Linked DNA regions of Homo sapiens: region 1 is linked to region 2. Evidence: promoter capture Hi-C in human tissues and cell types (Jung and others, 2019). All regions are on one chromosome and are shown on one strand. The core of a region is centred on a gene start or on the middle of the fragment in contact, and the rest is flanking DNA. Distances in the headings are between cores, read along the strand shown. Region 1 overlaps TBC1D24 (TBC1 domain family member 24). Region 2 holds the start of NTN3 (netrin 3).

The links. Contacts are between HindIII fragments. The study calls those that stand out against the background at their distance.
Region 1: a fragment that was not itself captured here is called in contact with the fragment with the promoter of NTN3 in region 2 in 1 of the 25 tissues and cell types used here (lymphoblastoid cells).

What each region holds. Positions count from the first base shown.
Region 1 is chr16:2,502,121-2,508,521 of GRCh38, reverse strand. It overlaps TBC1D24 (TBC1 domain family member 24), which reads right to left. Exons shown (of 8, transcript NM_001199107.2): 8 at 2,792-6,401. Among named protein-coding and RNA genes, the nearest start is that of ATP6V0C, 8.6 kb to the left of the region's middle. RefSeq lists enhancers at 332-832, 833-1,333. The HindIII fragment of the contact is 3,777 bases long and covers 219-3,995 here.
Region 2 is chr16:2,468,081-2,474,080 of GRCh38, reverse strand. NTN3 (netrin 3) reads right to left here and starts at 2,784. Exons shown (of 6, transcript NM_006181.3): 1 at 1,452-2,784; 2 at 1,192-1,380; 3 at 947-1,096; 4 at 763-813; 5 at 578-652; 6 at 1-325. The coding sequence starts at 2,379. It overlaps TEDC2-AS1 (TEDC2 antisense RNA 1), which reads left to right and starts at 5,868. Exons shown (of 1, transcript NR_135198.1): 1 at 5,868-6,000. RefSeq lists silencers at 1-12, 73-132, 203-352, 2,507-2,646, 5,910-5,959 and 1 more and enhancers at 4,580-4,659, 4,820-4,959, 4,919-5,462. The HindIII fragment of the contact is 12,116 bases long and covers 1-6,000 here.

The sequences.
Region 1 (6,401 bases), core at 858-3,357, 35 kb before region 2:
GAGGCCAAAGTGGGCGGATCACCTATGGTCAGGAGTTGGAGACCAGCCTGGCCGACATGGTGAAATCCCGTCTGTACTAAAAATGCAAAAATTAGCCGGGTGTGGTGGCGGGTGCCTGTAATCCCAGCTACTAGGGAGGCTGAGGCAGGATAATCGCTTGAACCCGGGACGGGGAGGTTGCAGTGAGCAGAGATCATGCCACTGCACTCCAGCCTGGGTGACAGAGCAAGACTCCATCTCAAAAAAACAAAAACATGAAAATGAAACCCAAAGTCATAAGATAGAGAGGCATGGGGAGCAGCTGCTTGCTGGGGCCAGGTTTTCCTTTAGGAGTGGGGAAATGCCATGGAACTGGAGGTGGTGGTTCCACAACATGCTCATTCATGCAACCACCACCTCTGTCTGGGGTCGTTCAAATGGTTGGATAGTATGTCAATTTCACTTCAATTTTTTTAAAAGAAAAATGAAACAGTTTCATGGCAGGCTAGAGGGAAGACTGTGCCCTGGACACCTGCCACAGACTAGGCCCGGAAAGCAGCCTGAGGGAAGGCTGCTGGTAGAGGCGGCAGGAAGGGAGGGGGCGGCACTGCCTGGCCAAGCTCTGGGCAGACACCAGCCCCACAGTGAGCTGGCCTGCAGGAGGAAGCAGCCCTGCGCCCCACCTCCCAGGCCAGAGCGCTCTGCACGCCCCGCTCAGGGACAATCTTGCCCAATTCTGGCCTGAGTGTGTGTCCTAATGTCAAGCACAAGACAGTCCGAGCACTTACAGTAAGTGCAAGAGTTACTGCAGGGAGCGTGGCGGGTGTGGGAAGGGGGTGTCCCGCCACCACAGGCCCCAGGAGCACACCTGGAGAATCTCTGATCACCCTGGACGCACAGCAGCAGCGCACACCAACCCACAGGGGCTTCAGTTCATTCTGCAGTGCTAGGCACTCCTGCCCCTTGAGACTGACAGTCTTTAGGACAGGGGGTGGGGAGACCAGCCAACACCTGTCTCAGGTGCTGTGAAGCTAGAACGCGGACCCGGCCTCAGCGGGGAGCTCAGGGAAATCCTGGGAGGGACACTAGGGCCCAGGCATGAGGAGTGGCAAATAGCACGCGCAAAGGCCGGGAAACAGAGGCTTTCAGTTCAGAGGAACTGAAAGAAACCTGGTGCCAGAGAGCCTGTGGCTGTGTTGGGGGCCAAGCTTCCTGCCAGGCTAGCAGACCAGGAGGCCTCTCAGACCCGGGACAGGTGCTGCCCCAACAGTCCCCTGAAGGTACTGAAGGAAGGTGTTCAGAGGAGCAAAGAAAGAGGGCTTGGCAGGAAGGGGCCACCCCCGTGGCCAGTCTGGGGAAGAGGAACCCAGGAGCATAGAGTGGGCAGAGGCAGCTCACGTGACGGCAGGCAGAGGCTCCACAGCAGCTGCAGGGAGGGCCCCCAGCAGCCTCGGTCTCACTGGAGGAACTGGACAGGGAGGGGGCATCTGTGCAGGGCTCAAAAGAAAAAAGGCATTCTATTTTTCTTTGTATTATACCGATCCACAATTAAACACAAGGTACTAAAAAGACGTGGCCGGGCACGGTGGCTCACCCCTATAATCCCAGCACTTTGGGAGGCCGAGGCAGGCGGATAACTTGAGGCCAGGAGTTAGGGACCAGCCCGGCCAACATGGTGAAATCCGGTCTCTACTGAAAATACAAAAATTAGCCGGACATGGTGGCAGGTGCCTGTAATCCCAGCTACTCAGGAGGCTGAGGCAGGAGGATACCTCAAACCTGGAAGTTGGAAGTTGCAGTGAGCCAAGATCGCACCACCACATTCCAGGCTGGGCGATACAGCAAGACTCCGTCTCAAACAAAAAAAAAGACATTCATTAATATTGACGTGGCCAGGCGCGGTGGCTCACGCCTGTAATCCCAGCACTTTGCGAGGCCGAGGCGGGTGGATCACGAGGTCAGGAGATAATTCCATCCTAGCTAACAGGGTGAAACCCCGTCTCTACTAAAAATACAAAAAAATTAGCCGGGCGTGGTGGCAGGTGCCTGTAGTCCCAGCTACTCGGGAGGCTGAGGCAGGAGAATGGTGTGAACCCAGGAGGTGGGGCTTGCAGTGAGCCGAGATTGAACCACTGCAGTCCAGCCTAGGTGGCAGAGTGAGAGTCCATCTCAAAAAAAAAAAAATTATATATATATATATATATATATAGAGAGAGAGAGAGAGAGAGAGAGAGAGAGAGACGCAAACTTTCAAAGGAAATACTCATTTTGAAATTTTGAATGAGAAAGGTTGAGTTTGTTTTTTGATACTCGTGTTTTACACACGACAGGGGTTCTTCACTATTTTTTTGTGGAGATGGAGTCTCCCTGTGCTGCCCAGGCTGCTCTCAAACTCCTGGCCTCAAACAATCCACCCACCTCAGCCTCCTAAAGTCTTGGGATTACGGGTGTGAGCCACCACACCCGGCCTTGACAGGGATTCCTGATGAAACGTCTGACACTGATTCTTCATGGTGACTCCTCTAAGTCTCCCTAAGACTTTGCTGAGTGTAGCTGTCCACACAGCAGGCACTAGGAACAAAAGAAAACAAGACGGATCAGGGAATGCTGCCGTTCTCACCGGCCACGGCTGCAAATGCGACAGACATGTACCTGTCGCCTCAGTGGAGAGACTCGCTGGTGACCACAATGCGCAGATGCGGTCTTGTCAACCTAGCGCCTCCCTCTCTCCTCCAACACCCTGGAGAAGAGGCGTCCAGGACTTCCCATCCCTCTAAGCCTTCTCATAGCAAGTTATTTCACAGTGACCTTCTTTTACCAGTTCTCGATTTTATTTAGGACTCAAATTAACACCAACCAAACATATCACTAACTCACTTATTTTCACATTTTCAAAGTTGGATTGTGCTGCAAATCCATACATTTGTGCTCACTACACATTTTTTTTATTACATTCATTGAGAGGCTCCAAAGCATCAGTCCAATAAACATTTTTCCAGCCCGATAACCATCCTTCGTAAGAACTAAGAGGTAAAATCATTCACACAACTATTTTTTCCCTTCTATCCTTAGCTCATAAGCATTTGACCAAATGCCAATGTTTTTGCCAGTTCATGTTGTCCGTGCCTTATCACAAGTGACATGTCTACAGGACACGGTATCCACTGACTTTGCTTCCTTGGTCCCAAGAAAAGGTGTTGACAAATTCCATAGTTTGGTAAAATGAGTGAGTCTGCAATTGTGGGAGGCATTTTGTTTTTAGCAATGAATCACATTACATTGTACCTAACTTCTCAAGCACAATCTGATACTAAGATGATGAAGATAGTTCTTAAAAACTCTTTATACCAGATGATTTTTAAAAATCCACATACTTTTCTACCTAACATAGATGTTGTAGGGTGAAGAGCCTATGAGGCTTGTTTGGCACTCCTGCTTCATTTGATAATTTCTCCACGCAAACAAGACATTTAGGCTGAGAAAGAGAACCAGCAAGAATCTGGATGAGCTGGGCACAGCAGCTCACGCCTGTAATCCCAGAATTTAGGGAGGCAGAGGCGGGAGGATTGCTTGAGTCCAGGAGTTCAAGACTAGCCTGGGCAACACAGCAAGACTATGTTCTCCACAAAAAGGGAGGAAAAAAATCTATATGAACCCAAATTTGAGGCAGGTGCTGTATTGCCTAATTAGTGGCCATTTGGGTTTTTTTGACCAGTGGTTTTGTGAGTTTGATGATATTCTGGACTTAGTAAAAATGTGAGAAAGTAAACAACTGTAAAAATTAAATCGATTCCTGGACAGTGGGAAAAAAACGGGGCAATCTCGGCTGGGCGCGGTTGCTCACGCCTGTAATCCCAGCACTTTGGGAGGCCGAGGAGGGCAGATCACGAGGTCAGGAGATCAAGACCATCCTGGCTAACACGGTGAAACCCCATCTCTACTAAAAATATAAAAAAATTAGCCGGGTGTGGTAGCAGGTGCCTGTAGTCCCAGCTACTCAGGAGGCTGAGGCAGGAGAATGGCGTGAATCCGGGAGGCGGGGCTTGCGGTGAGCCGAGATCGCGCCACTGCACTCCAGCCTGGGCGACAGAGCGAGACTCTGTCTCAAAAAAAAAAAAAAAAAAAAAAGGGACAATCTCAATAGGCCTGTGGTTTAGTTAACAGCAATGCAACAATGCTTATTTCTTTGTTTTGATATTGACTTGGGGGAAGGTGAGGGTACATGGAAACCCTGTACCGTCTCTGCAACTCTTCTGCAAATCAAAAATTACTTCAAAATAAAAAGGTACACAACTAAATTACTAAATATAAACTACTCAAGGAGACTGCAAAGGCTTTATGGGTTCAGAAAGTGGATAAGAGAAATATGAAGGCCTCTGAAATCTTCAAAACGTTTTAAAACAAATTCCACTGAAAAACTCAAAAAATGAAGTATGCGGCTTACAAAAATAGAAAAATTAAAATACTTTAGTTCATTAAAACTCTGAAAAAATTCAAGTACAAATGACTTACTCTCATAAGTTCTTTTGCTTAAACTGATTTTCTGAAGCCCCAAAGGCATATAATCTGCTTTAATGAATTCATTTAATAAACTATTTTAAATTAGGTGCAATTGTTGTTTTAAAAATAAATGTTAAACATTTATTCAGCACAAAGTGGTCTATTCAAAAAAATTAAAAAATAGGCTAGGCGCGGTGGCTCACGCCTGTAATCCCAGCACTTTGGGAGGCTGAGGGGGGGGTGGATCACGAGGTCAGGAGTTCAAGACCAGCCTGACCAACACAGTGAAACCCTGCCTCTACTAAAAATACAAAAAAAATTTAGCTGGGCGTGGTGGCGTATGCCTGTAATCCCAGCTACTCAGGAGGCTGAGGCAGGAGAATCGCTTGAACCCAGGAGGCGGAGGTTGCAGTGAGCCAAGATCATGCCACTGCACTCCAGCCTGGGTGACTCTGTCCCAAAAAAAAAAAAAATCAAAAAATAATTCTTTGAATGTTTCTAAAAACAAATGATAATTTATTATGCAGTTTCAACAAATGTTGGCTTTTTTTTTTTTTAAACAAAGAATGGCTACTTCATAGGCAGAGCAGCCACTTTTGGCTAATTTTTAACATCCAAAGCTAATAAATAATCAAGAAGAAATAGAGAACATTAACAAAATAAATTATGTTCTATTTGGGAATACCTAATATCAGATACTAACAAGTACAGTGATAAGAATAAAAAAGATAATAATCACACATACCTTCTAGGTTAGTAGAAAAGTTAGGAAAAGATATTAAATTTAAAGAAACAATATTTTGCATGCACACAAAAAACAAAGAACTTCGCTCATGATGTGGAAATCATGACCCAGCAGCAATCCGTCTTCCTGGTCCAGATCACTGGAAGGCCCGGGTGGGGCCCCCTGGGGGCAGCCACGCAGAACCTGCTGGACTTAACTCGCCAGAAAAATCACCACCCAGTTCAGGAAGTTTGCAGAGGGAAACCTACAAATGGTCCACGGATATGACTTCCCTGCTCCTGGAGGGCTCCCTCTGGAAGAGGCTTGCAGCATTCCAGTCATAGAATGTGGGTGAGCACTACAGCGGGCAGCCTCCCACACCTGCTTGGCTGTAGGCCCAGGAAGCCCCCGGAGGCCCCTCTGGCTGAAGAGATCAGACTCAGCTTGGAGCCCTGGAGTTGATGCAGCAAGACCATGTTTAATGAACACCAAAGCTGGCGGTACAGATGAGGGCCTCAGGGGCTCAGGCGGGGGCCTGGAGGGCTGCGGTGGGCTGAGATGAGTGGCGACTTCCCTCCCATACCTCTCCCCGTGAGAGGGATTCACCCCATCCCCCTGCGAGCCTCTCAACAGTCCTGTGAGGAGGACAGCAGGGCATGGGGACTGGCCCCATTTCACAGCTGGGGAAACTGAGTTCCAGACGGGTTTGTCAGCTTGCCCAAAGCCACACAGGGTTCCCGGTCCTTCCTCCTGCACCACTGTGCGCCCAGTCAGAGGCTACATGAGCAGATGGTCAGGGGAGGCTAAAGCCCCATGGGAGGAGCAGGCAATGGTGTGGGGATGGAAAGTGGCACGGTGCAGGGGACTCCAAGTGGCACTGGCTGGAGGCCAGCAGGGACGGGGGTGGGGGCAGGACTGCTGGTACCTGCCTCTGTGACCCAGGCTTCCATGGTCCCAGAACAGCCACTTGGGCCTCTGTGTCTCCCTTCTCCCCTCCGTGGTGACCAGACCCTCAAGACGAGTTGAAGGAGGTCATGGGGCATGGAGGGAGGTCACAAGGCAGGGGGCTGCCCCCTATAGTGCCCAGAGGCAAGGCCTCCCCTGGCACCTACCTGCGTCTGGCCAGCGCAGGGCTCAGGCAGGGCAGGGGCCCAGGGGCCCAAAGGCTGTAAGGTGAGAGGCTCACAGAAAACCCTGA
Region 2 (6,000 bases), core at 1,535-4,034:
CGTTCGCGTCGCTGCAGCCTCCGCAGGCGCCGCGTCCACGCGTCCCTCCAGGGTAGCACGAGGCTTCCGCGGGCGGCGATGAGCCCGGGCCCCCGGCCCCCCGCGCCCCCAGCCGCGGCTCCAGGCCCGCCCCCCAGCAGGAGGTAGCGGCGGCCGGGGAGCAGGCGCGGGCAGCCGCAGGCCGCATCCCCGGCGGGCACCCACAGCGCGCTACTCCCGCGCCGCGCGCGCTCCTCTCCGCTCCGGAACACGGCGAGCACCGCCACCGGGAAGCGTGTCCACGCGCCGCGCGCCTCGCCGCGCGCACCCACCGCCACCTGCACCGCTGCGGGGAGAGCGAGAGGGGGCGGGGTCAGGAAGGGGCGGCCTGCCCGCGGTAGGGGGAGGCACGGGGAGGACACCAGGAGGGCAGTGGGGGCTGAAGGGGCGGGGTCGCTGCCCGTGGAGGACCTGAGGGATGAGGATGGGCCTTGGGGCCCAGCAAGGGTCAAGGCGTTCCAAGGGGAAGCTGGCGGAGGAGGGAAGGTAGGGAGAGGAGGAAGGTGGGAAGGTCCGCGGGAGGCCTGAGGGCACCTACCATAGTCCTTCTTGCAGAACTTCTTTAGGCTGATGCGGTAGCTGCCACGGGCAGGTTTGCAGTGCGAGTCACAGTCTGGGTAGAAGGTGGGAGGCTGGCACAGACTCCCTTTCCCCACCCTCTCCTCCCAGAGCCCCCTCCCCCAAAGTCATGCCAGTCTGGGGCCCTGTCCTGTGTCCACTCACCCTGGGGCTGCACAGGGCTGCTGTCCTCAGTGGGTCCAGGGATAGGGGTCTCTGCAGAGAGGGAGGGAGAATGGCCTGCGATGGAGGGGCAGAGAGATCTGCAGGGCTCGGGGAATAGACGGGACAACAGCAGGGAGCTGGGGTGGCCTTGGCTTGGTGGCTGAGGCGGGGCAGGGTCACTCACTAACACAGGGCGCCACTGGGGAGCGGCTTTGCTGGAAGCCAGGCGCGCAGCGGTTGCAGGTGAGGCCAGTGACGCCATCCTTGCAGGGACACTGGCCTGTGGTCTGGTTGCAGGTCTTGCCAGCAGCACCAACCGGGTGACAGTCGCAGGCTGAGGACAGAGGTGGGAAGGGCCTGGTCAGAAGCCTGTCTGGGGATCTGGGAAGTCAGAGGGTGAGGGCCTGCAGGTGGCCGGTGGTGGCTCACCCCTGCAAGCCCGACGGTCACTCAGGGCACGGCCAGGGTCTCGATAGAAGCCCTCCCGGCAGTAGTGGCAGTGGCGGCCGGCGGTGTTGTGCCGGCAGTTGAGACAGACACCCCCGCTGCGGCGGCCGGACAGTCGGTACAGCTCCATGTTGAAGCGGCAGCGGCGGGCATGGCCGTTGCAGGAGCAAGCTGCAGGGAGGGATGGGTCAGGGGCAGGCTGGTTGTGTCCAAGGTCCCCAGGCCACCCTCCAAGGCCTCACCGAGGCAGGCGTGGGATTCCCGGGCAGTGGCCCGCTGCCATGGCCTGTCGCAGTAGAAGGGCTTGCAGCGGCCGCAGTCAGGGCCCTCGGTGCCATGCCGACAGTCGCAGATCAGGTGGCCCTGTGTGTCCAGCAGGCACCGTGAGGCATGTCCATTGCACTTGCAGCGCCCGCCCACCTGGAGGTCGGTGGCTGCGTAGGAGTAAGGGACGACGGCCTCCATGTCCCTGGGGTCACCTGCCGTGCTAGGCCTTGTGAGCACTACACGGACGTCGGTGGCGGTCACCCAGTCTTGGAGCACTGGGCTGCTGTCCAGGTCCAGGCCTGGGGGGCTGCTGTCCTGCATGCTGAAGGCCAGAAGGCCGCTGCCATCAGGCTGGGCCAGGGGTGCGGGGAAGCACAGGGCCTCAGGCCCTGGGCCAGCTGGGCCATTGGCAGGGGCAGGCAGACGGCCATAGTCCAGGTCACAGTGGGAGGAGAAGAAGCCCAGCGGGGCCCAGCTGCGGCCATGGTCCTGAGACTTGAGCAGGGCCACGGAGGCTGGGGGAGCTGAGCAGAAGCGCAGGCTCACGAAGACCAGCTCAAAAGCCTTGCCCAGGGGCACCGTGAGAGTCACGTTGAGGGGCGCCCGAGGCAGGGACTCCGAGCGCCAGCACAGAGGGCTGGCCGTGCCCCCTGGGGAAGTAAGGAGGGCGGGGGAGTGTGCCCGTCGCGGGTCGGAGGCGTCGCAGGCCCGAGTGGCCGGCCGCCCGCACGTGCTGGAAGCCAGCACCTCGCGGCCCAGGGCGGCGTTCACCAGTCCTGGCACGCAGCCGCGGGGCGCACCCCCCTCATCGTGGCAGGGGTCGGCGGGCGCCGGCGGCCCAGGACTCAGGGCGGCGAAGAGCGTGCCTGCCGTCAGCAGCAGCCCCCAGGGCCAGCCAGGCATGGCCGGAGCCGCTGCGGGTCAGCCAGTGGCCGGGCCCCAAGACGCTGCCCTTGGGGAAAAGAAGCCCTCTCCGCGGCTCTGCCCACCAGGCCCGCAATGCCGAGGAACAGGGCCCCCGGGCGGCCCCAGCCCGGCCCAGAGGTGGGAGCAGCGGCGGGCACGCCCCGGGCCCAGCACAGCAGCGGGGATGTTGGCGCGTCCTCCCGCTGGGCCTAGAGCGATGACAGGCGTCGCCCCCGCTCCCGGTGCCTCCGCCCGCGGAGGCCCCACCCGCCGCTCGCACTCACCCACCGAGGGCCGGGCGGAGCAGGTCTCCCGGCCTCCCGGGAAGGGCCGTGGGCGGGCGGGGCCTGCGGTGCACGGGCCGCCGCCTCCTCCCGGCTGCAGCGAGGGCGGACGAGCTGTGCCAGGAGGGGGTGGGGGGCGCAGCAGGCGCAAGCCCGGGCCCAGCCGGGGGCGGGGCTGCTCGGGTCGGGAAGGAGGCAGGGGAGGGGAGGGGGCCTCATCGCAGAGCTGGAATCAGAAGCAGATTCAGACGCGGGCTGGGCCAGCGGGGAAGGGGGCTGGGAGGCCCGGGAGCCAGGGGAGGGGCCGGGGAGCCAGGAATGCGCTGGCGGGAGGGGTCTGGAGGGGGGCAGCTCAGCCTTCGCAGCCCGTGGGGGACCACCCAGCAGGGTCCTGGGCCCACAGCCAGGTCTTTACTGCTCCTGGGGCTGTGCCACGTGCTGGACGGGGGTCTGGGTCGCCTCCTCCCTGAAGACCATCAGGCAGGCAAGGCCCCGGGTCTGACAGCAGAGGCCCTGGATGTTCCCCAGGTAGGGAAGCCAAGTAACCACCAGTTGAAGGGTCATCCCCAAAGCAGCATCTACTCGAGTAGAAGGAACCCAGGATTCGGTCAGGTCTAATTTTGAATCCAACTGCCCCATTTCTGGCTGCATGTCTTGGGCTCCTGTTTCCTCACCTGCCAGATGCCTGTTACTCAGCACGCGCTCTGAAGCTGTTGGATTTGATGAGTCTCAAGTGGCATCAGGCCCAAGTCGAGAGCTGCACAAATTGGAGTGTCTCCTGCCCATGTTGAGGAAGGGGGGCACCCCCATGGGCCTGAGCTGGGCTAAGACATGAGGCCAGCATCCCCTGCACCAGGCCAGATTCTGATCCCAAAGCTCCCTGGGTCTGCAAGTTTCTAGGGGCACCTCTGCCACGGGCCCAGCTGGCAGGGAGGACATGGAAGCTGGAGGGTGGGATGGGGTGGCTTCTTGGGGTTCGGGGGCTTGGTTAGCTGTTGAGGACCCCTCTGCAGGGGCAGGGAGTAGGGTTTAATCATGGGAAGGGGCTGGTCGCAACCCGGAGCCCACTGCCCTACGTCACAGCACGTTTGGGCAGGGAAACTGAGGCAGAAGCCCAGCTGGGTGGCCTGGGGACTAGCTGGGGATGGGGTAGCTGTGCCTGGGAGCGACACCACCAAAGAGGGTCCAGGAACAGCTCTGGTCAGAGAAACCTCCTCCCCTCCGACTTTCAGGTCCTTGACAGAGGAGGCCAAGCATCCCAGGGAGGGGCAGGGAACAAGTTCCGTGCAGGGCCAGCATCGAGGCCTGAATGCCCCGTTTCAGATGGGAGGCCAGGCCTGCAGCTGGTGGAGGAGGCCACGTGGGTGCTACCCTGGACACGACCAGAGATGAGCAAGGACCAGGAGGAAGAGAATGGAGAGGTAGACGCATCCCGCTGTTGGGGAGAGGAGGGGCAGGAGGACACGGAAGCCTCCTAGGGGAAACTGAAGGACCAGAGGAGGGAGCAGGAGGGCCTGACCATGGAGGGGAGGAACGGGAAGACAGGGTGATAGGGCACCTGGCTTGGCTCCTGGAGCAACTGACACTGGCTGGTGGGCACCTTCTCCTTGCCACACATCTGCATGTGACAGCCACAGATGCACAGGGATGGGGGCACCGGAGGACTGAACAGAGAGGGCTAAGGGGCTCTCTCTCTGCCACAGGGCCCCTGCCCCTCAGCTTCCTGATAAAGAGAATGGGAATTGTGTCCTTTACAAGTTGAGGGACCTCAACCTGACGGGGCTCACGCTCCGCTCTGTGGGTCAAGCTTAGAACCTGAAACGTCCCAACCACCCTCTTCAAGGTCCTTCTGGCTCCCAACCCCCACCCCCCGACACCCCACCCTAAGGGTGGGAGGAACCCTGGGGGGACTATGGGGGCTGAGATCATCATTCTGGGACAGTGGAGAGAAAAGCCCAGGCCTGACAGAGGGGTCCCACTGGCCAGAGACAAGCCTCTGGGGAAACCCAAGCTGTCTCTGGACGTCAGGGCCACTGCCAGACTGGCTGCCAGCCAGGCTGCAAGAGGGACAGTGGCCAGCAGCCTCTTCCACCCTCATCAGAGGGGCTGGCTTTGTCTCCAGCTCAGCTTCCCTGTGAGCCAGGACTGGGGTCTGCAGAACGTCTGGTGGCTTCTGGGGTGGGGGAAAGTAGGTGCCTGGGGCTCAGCCCTGCCCCAATTGTTCATCTGGGTCAGCAGCAGCGGCGGGAGGCCGTGGGCCCAGAGGGCCATTGTACCGCCAGCTCCCCAGGGAGGAGGCCGCTGGTCACAGGGCCTCTCCCCAGGAACAGTCCTCTGCACACGCTACTCTGCCCCCACCCCCAGCCCTCACAGATGGTGTTTGGGAGTTAGGAAGGGCCTCCCCACAGCGCCCAAGCGGGACTTATTGCTCCCCAGGGACCCAGCCACCTGTCCCAGCCCCTGGCTGGGGCCTCTCCCACCTCCCACCTCTCCACTGGCCCTGCCCCCTCCTGGCACCTTCTGCAACAAAGAAGCTCCGCCTCCCCTCCCCCCACCTGCAACTCAGGCCGCAGTGCTTCGCCTCCCCCTCCCCACCCCACCCCTCACCCCTAGAGTGGCAGCTCCAGCTTTGGGGCACAGGCTGGGGAGAGGGCATAGATGGGCTGGACAGTCCTAGGCGGCAGGGAGCTGAGAGTCTTTCCTGTAAGATGCCCGTTGATCCAATAATTCCCTGCCCAGCCCAGAACCTGCTGTCTCCCCCCAGACGCCTGCAAGCCACCACATGTTCACCTATTGCACATTTATCGAGCGCCTATTATGCCTCGGGGGGTTTCCAACCGAGCTCCGAAGGCAGACAGCCCAGGAGCAGACACAGCGCCGGCTCCCAACGGCGGGTGGTGTGGCCGAGCCCGCGTCGCGCTGCCCTGCACCCAGCACCCTCGCGCCGGGTCGATCCCCCAGCCTCGCAGACCGCTGCCCAGCCAGGCCGCTCTGCGGTCGCGCCAGCTCTGCGCGCCAAGTCAAAAGCTGAAATGCGACGTTGGACGGAGGAGGGAAGAGAGGGAAAGCAGAGAGGGAGGGAGGGAAACGGCCGGTGGCCTTCTCTGCCCAAAGGGTTCCAGAAGAAACGATTTGGGGATGGGGTGTGGGGGGCGGCCTCTGCGACCACGCTTGGCACTGCGCCCGCCCGGCCGGGGCGAGGTTGGAGGGAGGGGCGGCCGGCTCGCGGTGACCTCGATGGGAGGGGGCCTCGCCCGCGGCTCAGGGCGCCCCCGGCTCCCTGCGCCCGGCCCTTCGCCTCCGCCGAGCGCGCCAGCACAGGAAGGCGGCGGTC